4 separate regions of the Homo sapiens genome follow, and regions 1, 2 and 3 are each linked to region 4. Evidence: promoter capture Hi-C in 16 types of primary human blood cells and fetal thymus (Javierre and others, 2016). All regions are on one chromosome and are shown on one strand. The core of a region is centred on a gene start or on the middle of the fragment in contact, and the rest is flanking DNA. Distances in the headings are between cores, read along the strand shown.

The links. The method cuts DNA at HindIII sites, captures the fragments that hold promoters and counts their contacts. A CHiCAGO score of 5 or more calls a contact.
Region 1: the fragment with the promoter of FRAT1 here is called in contact with the fragment with the promoter of AVPI1 in region 4 in 9 of 17 cell types (erythroblasts, M0 macrophages, total CD4 T cells and 6 more); the score reaches 8.7 in erythroblasts.
Region 2: a contact is called between a fragment that was not itself captured here and the fragment with the promoter of AVPI1 in region 4, in 1 of 17 cell types (naive CD4 T cells). The highest score is 5.4, in naive CD4 T cells.
Region 3: a contact is called between a fragment that was not itself captured here and the fragment with the promoter of AVPI1 in region 4, in 1 of 17 cell types (M0 macrophages). The highest score is 5.2, in M0 macrophages.

The regions. Positions count from the first base shown.
Region 1 is chr10:97,317,937-97,320,636 of GRCh38, forward strand. It overlaps FRAT1 (FRAT regulator of Wnt signaling pathway 1), which reads left to right and starts at 1,335. Exons shown (of 1, transcript NM_005479.4): 1 at 1,335-2,700. The coding sequence starts at 1,518. The coding sequence ends at 2,357. RefSeq lists enhancers at 649-1,438, 1,176-1,470, 2,560-2,700 and silencers at 1,310-1,619, 2,120-2,219. The HindIII fragment of the contact is 4,234 bases long and covers 1-2,205 here.
Region 2 is chr10:97,397,324-97,400,023 of GRCh38, forward strand. The region is part of intron 2 of RRP12 (ribosomal RNA processing 12 homolog); the gene reads right to left. Among named protein-coding and RNA genes, the nearest start is that of RRP12, 2.7 kb to the right of the region's middle. The HindIII fragment of the contact is 7,404 bases long and covers 1-2,700 here.
Region 3 is chr10:97,353,578-97,356,277 of GRCh38, forward strand. No RefSeq gene overlaps it. Among named protein-coding and RNA genes, the nearest start is that of FRAT2, 20 kb to the left of the region's middle. The HindIII fragment of the contact is 1,435 bases long and covers 625-2,059 here.
Region 4 is chr10:97,685,851-97,688,550 of GRCh38, forward strand. It overlaps AVPI1 (arginine vasopressin induced 1), which reads right to left and starts at 1,391. Exons shown (of 3, transcript NM_021732.3): 1 at 916-1,391. RefSeq lists enhancers at 528-1,481, 1,215-2,414, 1,482-2,435 and a silencer at 1,378-1,757. The HindIII fragment of the contact is 1,235 bases long and covers 281-1,515 here.

The sequences.
Region 1 (2,700 bases), core at 85-2,584, 370 kb before region 4:
ACTACGTACCTCCTCAGAGCCCATCCCCCCTACTGGTCTGAGGCTTTTTTTTAAACAACTTTCTGGACATAGCCCCTCTTAAGACTAACAACCTATAGCCAGGCGTGGTGGCTCACGCTTGTAATCCCAGGATTTTGGGAGGCCGAGGCAGGTGGATCACCTGAGGTCGGGAGTACCAGACCAGCCTGACCAATATGGAGAAACCCCATCTCTGCTAAAAACACAAAATTAGGCTGGGCATGGCGGCGCATGCCTGTAATCCCAGCAACTCGGGAGGCTGAGGCAGGAGAACTGCTTGAACCCAGGAGGCGGAAGTTGTGGTGAGCGGAGATTGCGCCATTGTACTCCAGCCTGGGCAACAAGAGCGAAACTCTGTCTCAAAAAAACAAAACAAAACAAAAAGAGTAGCAACCTAGGCCGGGCGCAGTGGCTCACGCCTGTAATCCCAGCACTTTGGGAGGCTGAGGCGGGTGGATCACCTGAGGTCAGGAGTTCGAGACCAGCCTGGCCAACATGGTGAAACCCCGTCTCTACTAAAAATACAAAAATTAGCCGGGCGTGGTGGTGGGCGCCTGTAATCCCAGCTACTCGGAAGGCTGAGGCAGGAGAATTGCTTAAACGCAGGAGGCGGAGGTTGTAGTGAGTGGAGATCGAGCCACTGCACTCCAGCCTGGGCGATAGAGCGAGACTCCGTCTCAAAAAAACAAACAAACAAATAAACAAAAAGACTAGCAACCTCCTCTCCAGCAATGCCAACCCCAGTCCAGGCCCCCATCCGCCCAGGATCTCGATCAAAAAACATTAATCTGTGGCCTTTCTTTGCCATTTCCAACTCTGCCACCTCCATCGAACGACAAGGTCCCCTTCTTCCTTTCCATTCCCGTCAGCTTCATTTCCCTAATCTCCGTACAAATCCCTAGCCTGACTCCCTTTCCTTTCCATCCTCACCAGACGCCCGCATGCCGGACCTCAAAAGCGCAAACGCTAAAAACCGGTTGAGTTGACGCACGGAGAGAAGGGGTGTGTGGGTGGGTGGGTGTGTGTTAGTGTGCGTGCTTGCTTGTGTGTGGAAGAAACCAACAGGGTTCACGCTGGTGCCCATTTCTGGAAATGCCAATCGCGCCCGACTGCGGGAGCCAGGATCAGGTCCCCAGGGCGCCCTTGCAGACAGCACCCTGAGCGAAGGAGCTCAGAAGGCAGTCCGGCTTCACCCAGACCCCCAATCCCACAGAAGCGCCGTCCCCCAGCGGCACAGCACCCCCTCCCCGGCGCGGTGGTAGGGCCCGACGTGACGTCACCCATTGTTTACAAATCAACCCGAGCCGGCAGGATTCCGGCTCCCGCGGCTGCAGGCGCGCGGCTAGAGTGCCTGGCGGGCTCCGGCTTCCGCGTCCGCCCCGGCCCCGGTCCAGACTTAGTCTTCAGCTCCGCGCCCGCTCCGCCGCGGCCCACCGCGCCCGCCGGCAGCCGAGCCCCCAGCGACGCCCGCACAGCTCCGGGTGCCCAGACAGGGGGCCATGCCGTGCCGGAGGGAGGAGGAAGAGGAAGCCGGCGAGGAGGCGGAGGGGGAGGAAGAGGAGGAGGACAGCTTCCTCCTACTGCAGCAGTCAGTGGCGCTGGGCAGCTCGGGCGAGGTGGACCGGCTGGTGGCCCAGATCGGCGAGACGCTGCAGCTGGACGCGGCGCAGCACAGCCCGGCCTCGCCGTGCGGGCCCCCGGGGGCGCCGCTGCGGGCCCCGGGGCCCCTGGCTGCGGCGGTGCCGGCGGACAAGGCCAGGTCCCCGGCGGTGCCGCTGCTGCTGCCGCCCGCGTTGGCGGAGACTGTGGGCCCGGCGCCCCCTGGGGTCCTGCGCTGCGCCCTGGGGGACCGCGGCCGCGTGCGGGGCCGCGCTGCGCCCTACTGCGTGGCCGAGCTCGCCACAGGCCCCAGCGCGCTGTCCCCACTGCCCCCTCAGGCCGACCTTGATGGGCCTCCGGGAGCTGGCAAGCAGGGCATCCCGCAGCCGCTGTCGGGTCCGTGCCGGCGAGGATGGCTCCGGGGCGCCGCCGCCTCCCGCCGCCTGCAGCAGCGACGCGGGTCCCAACCAGAAACCCGCACAGGCGACGACGACCCGCACCGGCTTCTGCAGCAGCTAGTGCTCTCTGGAAACCTCATCAAGGAGGCCGTGCGAAGGCTTCATTCGCGACGGCTGCAGTTACGTGCAAAGCTTCCCCAACGCCCGCTCCTGGGACCTCTGTCGGCCCCGGTGCATGAACCCCCTTCGCCTCGCAGCCCTCGCGCGGCCTGCAGTGACCCTGGCGCCTCCGGGAGGGCGCAGCTCAGAACTGGCGACGGCGTTCTTGTGCCTGGCAGCTAACACGCCCGGGGTGGCCACAGCGCCAGCCTCAGACTGGAGGGCAAGGGGTTCCCTTGAGGGCTGCAGTTCTACTCAGGCTGGTGGAGAACTCTGGCTTTTGGAAGCGAGAGTAAAAAGCTAATGACGAGGAACCGAAAAATCGCGAGTGTTTCGCGGGTAACTGGGGTTGAGGGCCAAAATATTTGGAATGAAGGACTTTGGCCCTATTTAAGGCAGATTTTACAGAGCGCACCTCAAACGTACAAGTCAGTAGGACTCCTTATTTGGCGTGACCCGACCTGGCCGCGGAGCCTGCATTTCCTCGCAGCCTCTCAGTGCCCTCCAGCCCCGCGACCATGTGGCC
Region 2 (2,700 bases), core at 76-2,575, 290 kb before region 4:
CTAATTTTTTGTACTTTTAGTAGGGATGGAGTTTCACCATGCTGGCCAGGTTGGTTTTGAACTTCTGACCTCAAGTGATCTGCCCGCCTCGGCCTCCCAAAGTGCTAGGATTACAGGCGTGAGCCACCTCGCCTGGTATATTATTATTATTTTAAAAAGATTTTTCAATCCATGCTTGGTTGAATCTGCAGGTGCAGAACCCGCAAATATAGAGACCTGACTGTATCATTATATAATAATGAAAAATTTAAATAGTGCATTATTCAAAAGAATGAGAACAACTATATATTAACTTATAAATATCGTTCAGTAGGGAAAAAGTTGCAGAACAGTGGATAAAAAATAAACTAATCAAGCAGGGCACAATGGCTCACACCAGTAATCCCAACACTTTGGGAGGCTCAGGTGGGCAGATCCCTTGAGCCCAGGAGTTCAAGACCAATCTGGGCAATATGGCAAACCCCATCTCTACAAAAAATACAAAAATTAGCTTGGTATGGTAGCACTCCCCTGTAGTCCCAGCTACTTGGGAATTGGAAGGCTGATCAGCCACTGCACTCTAACCTGGGTGACAAAGTGAGACTCTGTCTGAAAAAAAAGAAAAGAAAAGAAAAGAAACTAATCACATTTTGGTAAACCTAAATAACAAAATTGGGTAAAAAAAAATACGTATATATATATACATATATATATATATATGTATATATATATACGTATTTTTTTTTTTTTTTTTTTTTTTTTTGAGATGGAGTCTCGCTCTGTTGCCCAGGCCGGACTGCGGACTGCAGTGGCGCAATCTCGGCTCACTGCAAGCTCCGCTTCCCGGGTTCACGCCATTCTCCTGCCTCAGCCTCCCGAGTAGCTGGGACTACAGGCGCCCGCCACCGCGCCCGGCTAATTTTTTGTATTTTTAGTAGAGACGGGGTTTCACCTTGTTAGCCAGGATGGTCTCGATCTCCTGACCTCATGATCCACCCGCCTCGGCCTCCCAAAGTGCTGGGATTACAGGCGTGAGCCACCGCGCCCGGCCTTTTTTTTTTTTTTTTTTGAGACAGAGTCTCGTTCTGTCACCCAGGCTGAAGCGCAGTGGTGCGATCTTGGGTCGCTGCAACCTCTGCCTCCAGGGTTCAAGTGATTCTCGTGCCTCAGCTTCCCAAGTAGCTGGGATTACAGGCGCATGCCACCATGCCAGGCTAATTTTTTAGTAGAGATGGGTTTTCACCATGTTGGCCAGGCTGGTCTCAAACTCTTGACCTCAAATGATCTGCCCACCTCGGCCTCCCAAAGTGCTAGGATTACAGGTGTAAGCCACTATGTCCAGCCTGAAAATTTAGTTTTTAAATTTCAACTACTCATAATTTAAAATATTTGATCTATTTACTAGAAAACATATATTTGTAACAACCTGGCAAATAGGTTCGTAGTAATTCATAGTAGGCAAATCTACTTGTACAACCATAAATGTTATGAACTCTAAATAGACACAAATCAAGTATTTCCAATGAAAATTTAGCATCTAAGTAGGGGTATATGGGTAAATTATACACTAGATTTTGAAGACTTGGTATCATAAAAATAATGCTGTAGTAAAATATACTGATTATACATTGAAGTGATAATATTTTAAAGATACTGAGTTAAATAAAGTACATTATTAAGATTAATTTGGGCCGGGCGCAGTGGCTCACACCTGTAATCCCAGCACTTTAGGAGGCCGAGGCGGGTGGATCACCTGAGGTCAGGAGTTTGAGACCAGCCTGACCAACATGGAGAAACCCTGTCTCTATTAAAAACAGAAAATTAGCCGGGCATGGTGGCGCACGCCTCTAATCCCAGCTACTCGGGAGGCTGAGGCAGGAGAATCACCTGAACCCAGGAGGCGGAGGTTGCAGTGAGCCGAGATCGTGCCATTGCACTCTAGCCTGGACAACAAGAGCGAAACTCCGGCTCCAGAAAAAAATAAAAAGATGAATTTATTTTACCTGTTTCTTTCAGTTTTTAATATGGCTACTAAACATTTTTAAATTACATATGTGGCTTGAATTTAGATTACTATTGGACAGAGCTGGTCCAGGAAGACAGACAATGACCCATTAACAGGAGCTCTGTGAATGATTCAAGTTGGGGGATCTACCATCACATTATATTATTCTTATATCATTTTGATATCATTTAGAATTTTGACATTTTTTATTTCAATAACAAAAAATATATATAACTTTATAGTATAGATAAAATAATAAAAGTAAGGCCAGGCACGGTGGCTCATGCCTGTAATCCCAGCATTTTAGGAGGCCAAGGTGGGCGGATTACCTGAGTTCAGGAGTTTGAGACCAGCCTGGCTAACATGGTGAAACCCCGTCTCTACTAAAAATACACACACACAAAAAATTAGCTACTTGAATAATGCACTATTTAAATATACTAAAAAAAAAAAAAAAAAAATTAGCCGGGCGTGGTGGCACATGCCTGTAATGGCAGCTACTTGGGAGGCTGAGGCAGGAGGATTGCTTGGGCCTGGGAGATGGAGGTTGCAGTGAGTGAAGATTGCGCTACTGCACTCCAGCCTGGCCAACAGAACGAGACTCTGTCTCAAAATAAATACATGAATTAAGTTAAATTAAAGTAAATAAATTTAGTTCTTGCTAGATAAAACGTTTCCTAATCACTGTTACTCAGCATTTATTTACTCAACATATG
Region 3 (2,700 bases), core at 92-2,591, 330 kb before region 4:
TATTGCCCAGGCCAGTCTCAAACTCCTGGGCATAAACGATACTCTCGCCTCAGCCTCCCAAAGTGTTGGGATTACAGGTGTGAGCCATTGTGCCTGGCCTTACATTTTTTCCTTAATTAAAAAAAAAATAGCCCTACGTATATTAAGAAAAAAAAGAATGAAATGCACTAGTAATAACAGAATTTGGTGGAAGGATTTTAGCCCCTACTTTTACTTTTGTTTTTTCCAAATGTTCTGGGAATCTTTATCACTTTTGTAGTGAAATATATACGATTTTAATTTTTAAAATTACCCTTTGAGGAAACATAAGCAACCAAGAAAGAAAAAATGGGGAAAGGACTCTGAGGACTGAAAACAGGCTACCTGAACTTCATAAGCAATTTTGTTACATGTTGCAAACAGTACAGAAAAAACACCCTTCTTGGGACTGATCATGCTGTAAGTAGGACTAGCTCTAAAGATGGCCACTGGCAGGAATGAACTGCCAGGACAGTCCCCACCAAGCCTTCTGCCACAATCACGAGAAGGGAAATAGTGAAGGGGCAAGGTCAGTTTAACCTGACTCACCCATGGCCAGAAGTGTCACAATGTGGACATGACTAGACCGCCTTTGCAAATCCCCAAAGCTTGACCACTCCCTTGGCCAACTGCAGGGTTGCGGTTTTCGTAGTCAAGCAGGGTAGGACCTGTTTTCCATTTCTGAGAATGAGTGGAGGATGGACCCCAGAAAAGCAAGCCTCAGATTGACATTCCCAAAAGCACAAATTGAAAATCTGGAGAGTGAGAGCTCTCAACTTTCCTATTCACCCTAAAATTGGATGAATCTTTTGTTGATGAACACTCCTAAGACTCTCTTTCGCCACACTGTTGAAACAACACTGACTTTGTTTTTTTTTTTTTGAGACAGAGTTTCGCTCTTGTCACCCAGGCTGGAGTGCAAAGGCGCGCTCTCAGCTCACTGCAACCTCCGCCTCCCGGGTTCAAGCAATTCTCCTGCCTCAGCCTCCCGAGTAGCTGGGACTAGTGTGTGCCTCCACACCCAGCTAATTTTGTATTTTTAGTAGAGACAGGGTTTCACCATGTTGGCCAGGCTGGTCTTGAACTCCTGACCTCAGGTGAGCCACCTGCCTTGGCCTCCCAAAGTGCTAGATTACAGGTGTGAGTGATTGCGCCCGGCCTCAAGAACACTGACTTTCAAAATACACCTGAAGTTTCAGGGTGAAGATTAATTCTTGCCTCTGCATCAAGATCACTTGCATTTGAAGTCTACTTCCAAAAGAATATGGCATTCAGCACATCACTAACACCAACCTTTCTAGGTCACCTGCCTTTCCCATCTTTAAAAGAAAACAAAGTTCCTTGGAAAATGTGCTATATATAACAAGGAGGTTGGCTTCACGCTTTCTTTTTTTTTTTTTTTTGAGATGGCGTTTCACTCTTGTTGCCCAGGCTGGAGTGCAATGATGCGATCTCAGCTCACCCCAACCCCTGCCTCCCGGGTTCAAGTGATTCTCCTGCCTCAGCCTCCCGAGTAGCTGGGATTACAGGCATGCACCACCATGCCTGGCTAATTTTGTATTTTTAGTAGAGATGGGGTTTCTCCATGTTGGTCAGGTGATCCACCCGCCTCGGCCTCCCAAAGTGCTGGGATTGCAGGTATGAGCCGTGCCTGGCCTTTTTTTAAAAAACAAACAAACAACACCAATAAGCTGGGCGCAGTGGCTCACGCCTGTAATCCCAGAACTTTGGGAGGCCAAGGTGGGCGGATCACAAGGTCAGGAGTTCGAGACCAGCCTGGCCAACATGGTGAAACCCTGTCTCTACTAAAAATACAAAAATTAGCTGGGCGTGGTGGCGGGTGCCTGTAATCACAGCTACTCAGGCGGCTGAGGCAGGTGAATTGTGTGAACCTGGGAGGCAGAGGTTGCAGTAAGCTGAGATCACGCCATTGCATTCCAGCCTGGGTGACAGGGCAAGACTCTGTGAAAACAAACAAACAAACAAAAAACAAAACACCAATGCTGGGCAATTGGCTCATACCCCTATCTACTTTACACAAAGCTTCCCAGTGCACGTGGTCACATTTCCTGAGAAAGGAAACAGGAAGGACTGGGCTTGGCTTACTTCGGCCCAACTTGTGTCCAGAAGTGTAACAACGGGGAGTATGGTTAGATCCCCTCTGCAAATCTCTCCTAGCCACTCCTGACCACCTTTCTTGCTTGCTCTCCAATTCTAGATTTCTGTGAACAAGGCATGTAAACAGTGCCACCTCTGGGCCGAGTGTGGTTCCTTTCAGCTTTTCCTAGCCCCAAATCATTGGGAGGAAATGCCCTAATTTGGGGAGCGCCAGATCCAATTAAGACTTGGGTCCCCTTAGATAATGAGTGGAAGAGTGTGGTGGGACAGGCTGCCAGGAGGTGCACAGGGCCTCCTGGGACCATTATCAGAGCCAAGTGCCTTAAACTAGAATGGAAACGAGGAATGTGTGCATGTGCTCGCCTCACGTTGGGAGGATCTGAGATGGGAAGAATGTATCAGTCAGGTGCTAGGGCACAAAGCACACTCATACTGGGGTGTGGGAACAGTGCTGGGGTTCTTTGCTTCTGGCTGCCTGTGGGATTGTATCCACATGAGGGGACCTGGGCTGACAGGACAGTGACCTCAGGACTTCTGTGCCATGCCCTTCTCTGCTCCAGACCA
Region 4 (2,700 bases), core at 141-2,640:
ATATGACCTGGAAATAAACTGCTACTAGATCTAGGGATAACCCTTTCAAGATTTCTAGAACCCTGAATTCTGGCTGTGCTGCTAACTGGGTGACCTTGGATAAGTCTCAGTTTCCCCTGCCACAAGTTGCTCGTCATCAAAATAGTATAAGGCCAGGCCTGGTGGCTCACGCCTGTAATCCCAGCACTTTGGGAGGCTGAGGTGGGAGGATTGCTTGAGCCCAGGAGTTCCAGACCAGCCTGGTCAACATAGCAAGACTGCCTCTATAAAATTTTAAATAAGCTTTTTAAAATAAATGGTGAGTATAAATAACTCTTAACAGGAAAAGGGAGATTAAGTTTGTGACGGCATTCCTTCTAGTACCTGGTATACCACAGACATTCTATGCATGCTGGTTGAATGAATAAATGATGAAGGGAAAGGCTGTTTGACTACCAGGGGCTATAGAATCATTGTCATTTTCATCATCACAGCCATCAACAAATCTGTGTACTTTTAAATCATAGCTTTATGATTAAAATCATAGAGGCAGCTTGTTCAGTGTCAAGCGCAGAACAGAGCACGTTCAGATGGGTGCTTTCTTTCCTCCTCACTTAAGGTGGCACTATTGTTATACCCATTTTACAGATGAGAAAGCTACACCCAAAGTCACACAGCTGGCAGGTGATGGAAGCTGGGACATGAACCCAGGCAGTCTGACCCCAGCACCCGGGCTCTCAAGCCACTGTTATTTTTGTTCCTGCCAGATGGCTGAGGAGGTCTTCTGGGGAAGGTCGGTCCCAGAAGCCTTTCGGAGGCTATCTGCTTCTGTAGATTGTGGAAGGAGCAGGGAGGGATCCAAAGTCAGGACTCCCAAGCTAGCCTCTGTACCCTCTGCACTCCACTGCCCGGTGGAGAATTGGAGCAGGTACTCACCACACTGAAGGGCAGCTCCGACAGACCTCAAATGGGGATGGGGCAAGCTAAGATGCGCCCACTCCAACCTCTTCCACAGCCTTCAGAAAGGGCAGGCGCAGCTCTGCGAAGGTGCTTACAAGGGCCAGTCGGTGATCACGGGCAGCACAAGAGCATGGCAGAGGGTATCCTGGCCGAGGTCCTAAGGCGACATCTGCAGCACGAGGAGGCCCCGGGACTCAGACGTGGCCGCTTCGCAGAACGACGGGGTCCTAAGTGGATCTGGCGGTCGCGTCCCGCTGGCACCCCGGCTCTGACTGTCGCCCTCCGGCTCCCACCGCAGCGCCGAGCTGGGCCGCCGACCTACGTACCTGGTTGCTTGAGGCAGGCCGCACGCAGCCCCAAACTGGTCCGGGCCACTTGGGTCACAGCCGCGGTTCCCGGGAGAAAGCGCTCCCTAGCCCCGGAACAGCCAATCCTCGGCCCTAGCCAGGTATGAGCTCCCAGGCGAGCCTTCCAAACCCAAGGCGGAGTTCCGTGCGCCAATCATCGGTGGGAGACAGGGAGGGGGCGTGTCCATCCCCGCCCCCCGCCTCCGCTGGCCTCGAAAGCGGAGTGCGAAGCTTCCTCAAACCTAATCGGCGGCGGAGCGGCGGTGAGGGGGCGTGTCTGCCCGGGCCCTGCCCACCGCCCTCTCCGCCCCCGCGCGGCGCCCGAGGCGCCCCCTTCATTGACGTCAGTCCCCAGGGCCAGCGCGGTTTTGCTGGCGCGGGAGCTGGGCGGGGCTGCATTCCTGCCCCAGGGTGCGGCGAAAGCTGGCCCTGCCGGGTACACGTGACGGATGCCCCTTCTCCTGGGCCCGAGGCCAGCGCGCGCGGCACTGACTGCCTTGCAGCGCGTGGCCCTCTGCAGATCCTCAGACTCTGCCGCTCAAGTCCCCTCCCAGCCCACCGTTTGGCTCCGGCTTTGAGGGAGAGGAGGGGGCAGTCTGCTGGAGTCAGACCTTGGGCTTCAAAGCCAGAATGTCGTGGGTTCAAATATTGGGTCATTTGTGCGACTTTGGGCCGGTTACCTAAACAAGACCGTATTTTAAAGTTTGTATGCATTCGGAAATGTTCATTAGTGACCTATGCTGTCCGAGTTCCTTGATAGGCCGTAAACAAGAGAGACGGAAAGACCTATAGCCCTTGTCCTGGGGAGTCTACAGCCTAGTAAGGGAGGCAGGCATTAAACAACCTAAAACATGGAGTATGTGATTACAGTTGTGATCAATGTTATGGCTATAAGAGGATAAATATGGAGGAACCTAAGCTTCCTCTGGGAGGTTCAGGAGGGCTGAAGAAGCAGCATTTAAGCTGAGATATAAAGAAGGAGTTGAAACTGGTCAAATGAAGAGGAGTGGATCTGGGGAGACTGCTTTAAGGAAAGAGGGAAAGGCATTTGGTTGGGCCAGGAGGTAGCTTGGCTCCGGAGGAATTAAATGCGACCCGGAGTAAGGCTAGCAAGAGAGAGCACGGTGGGAAGTAGAAGGCAGAGGCAGGCAGAGAAGGTTGCATGTGATCCTTGGAGGGGTTTAAACAAGGAATGGCATTATATGTACTGTGTTTATGTAACGGGCATTTTATAGTACTTACCACGTACCAGTAGTGTCAGTCAGCACTTTGCAAATTTCATCATCATGACAAGTTTGTGTTTTTAGAAGGTCACTCTGGCTGCAGTTTGGAACTTGGATTGGAGGGGGCAGGAGTGGAGGCAGGGTGTCCAGTAGGCCTCTGATAAATGCTTGTTTTGTCCTTGGAAGATGAA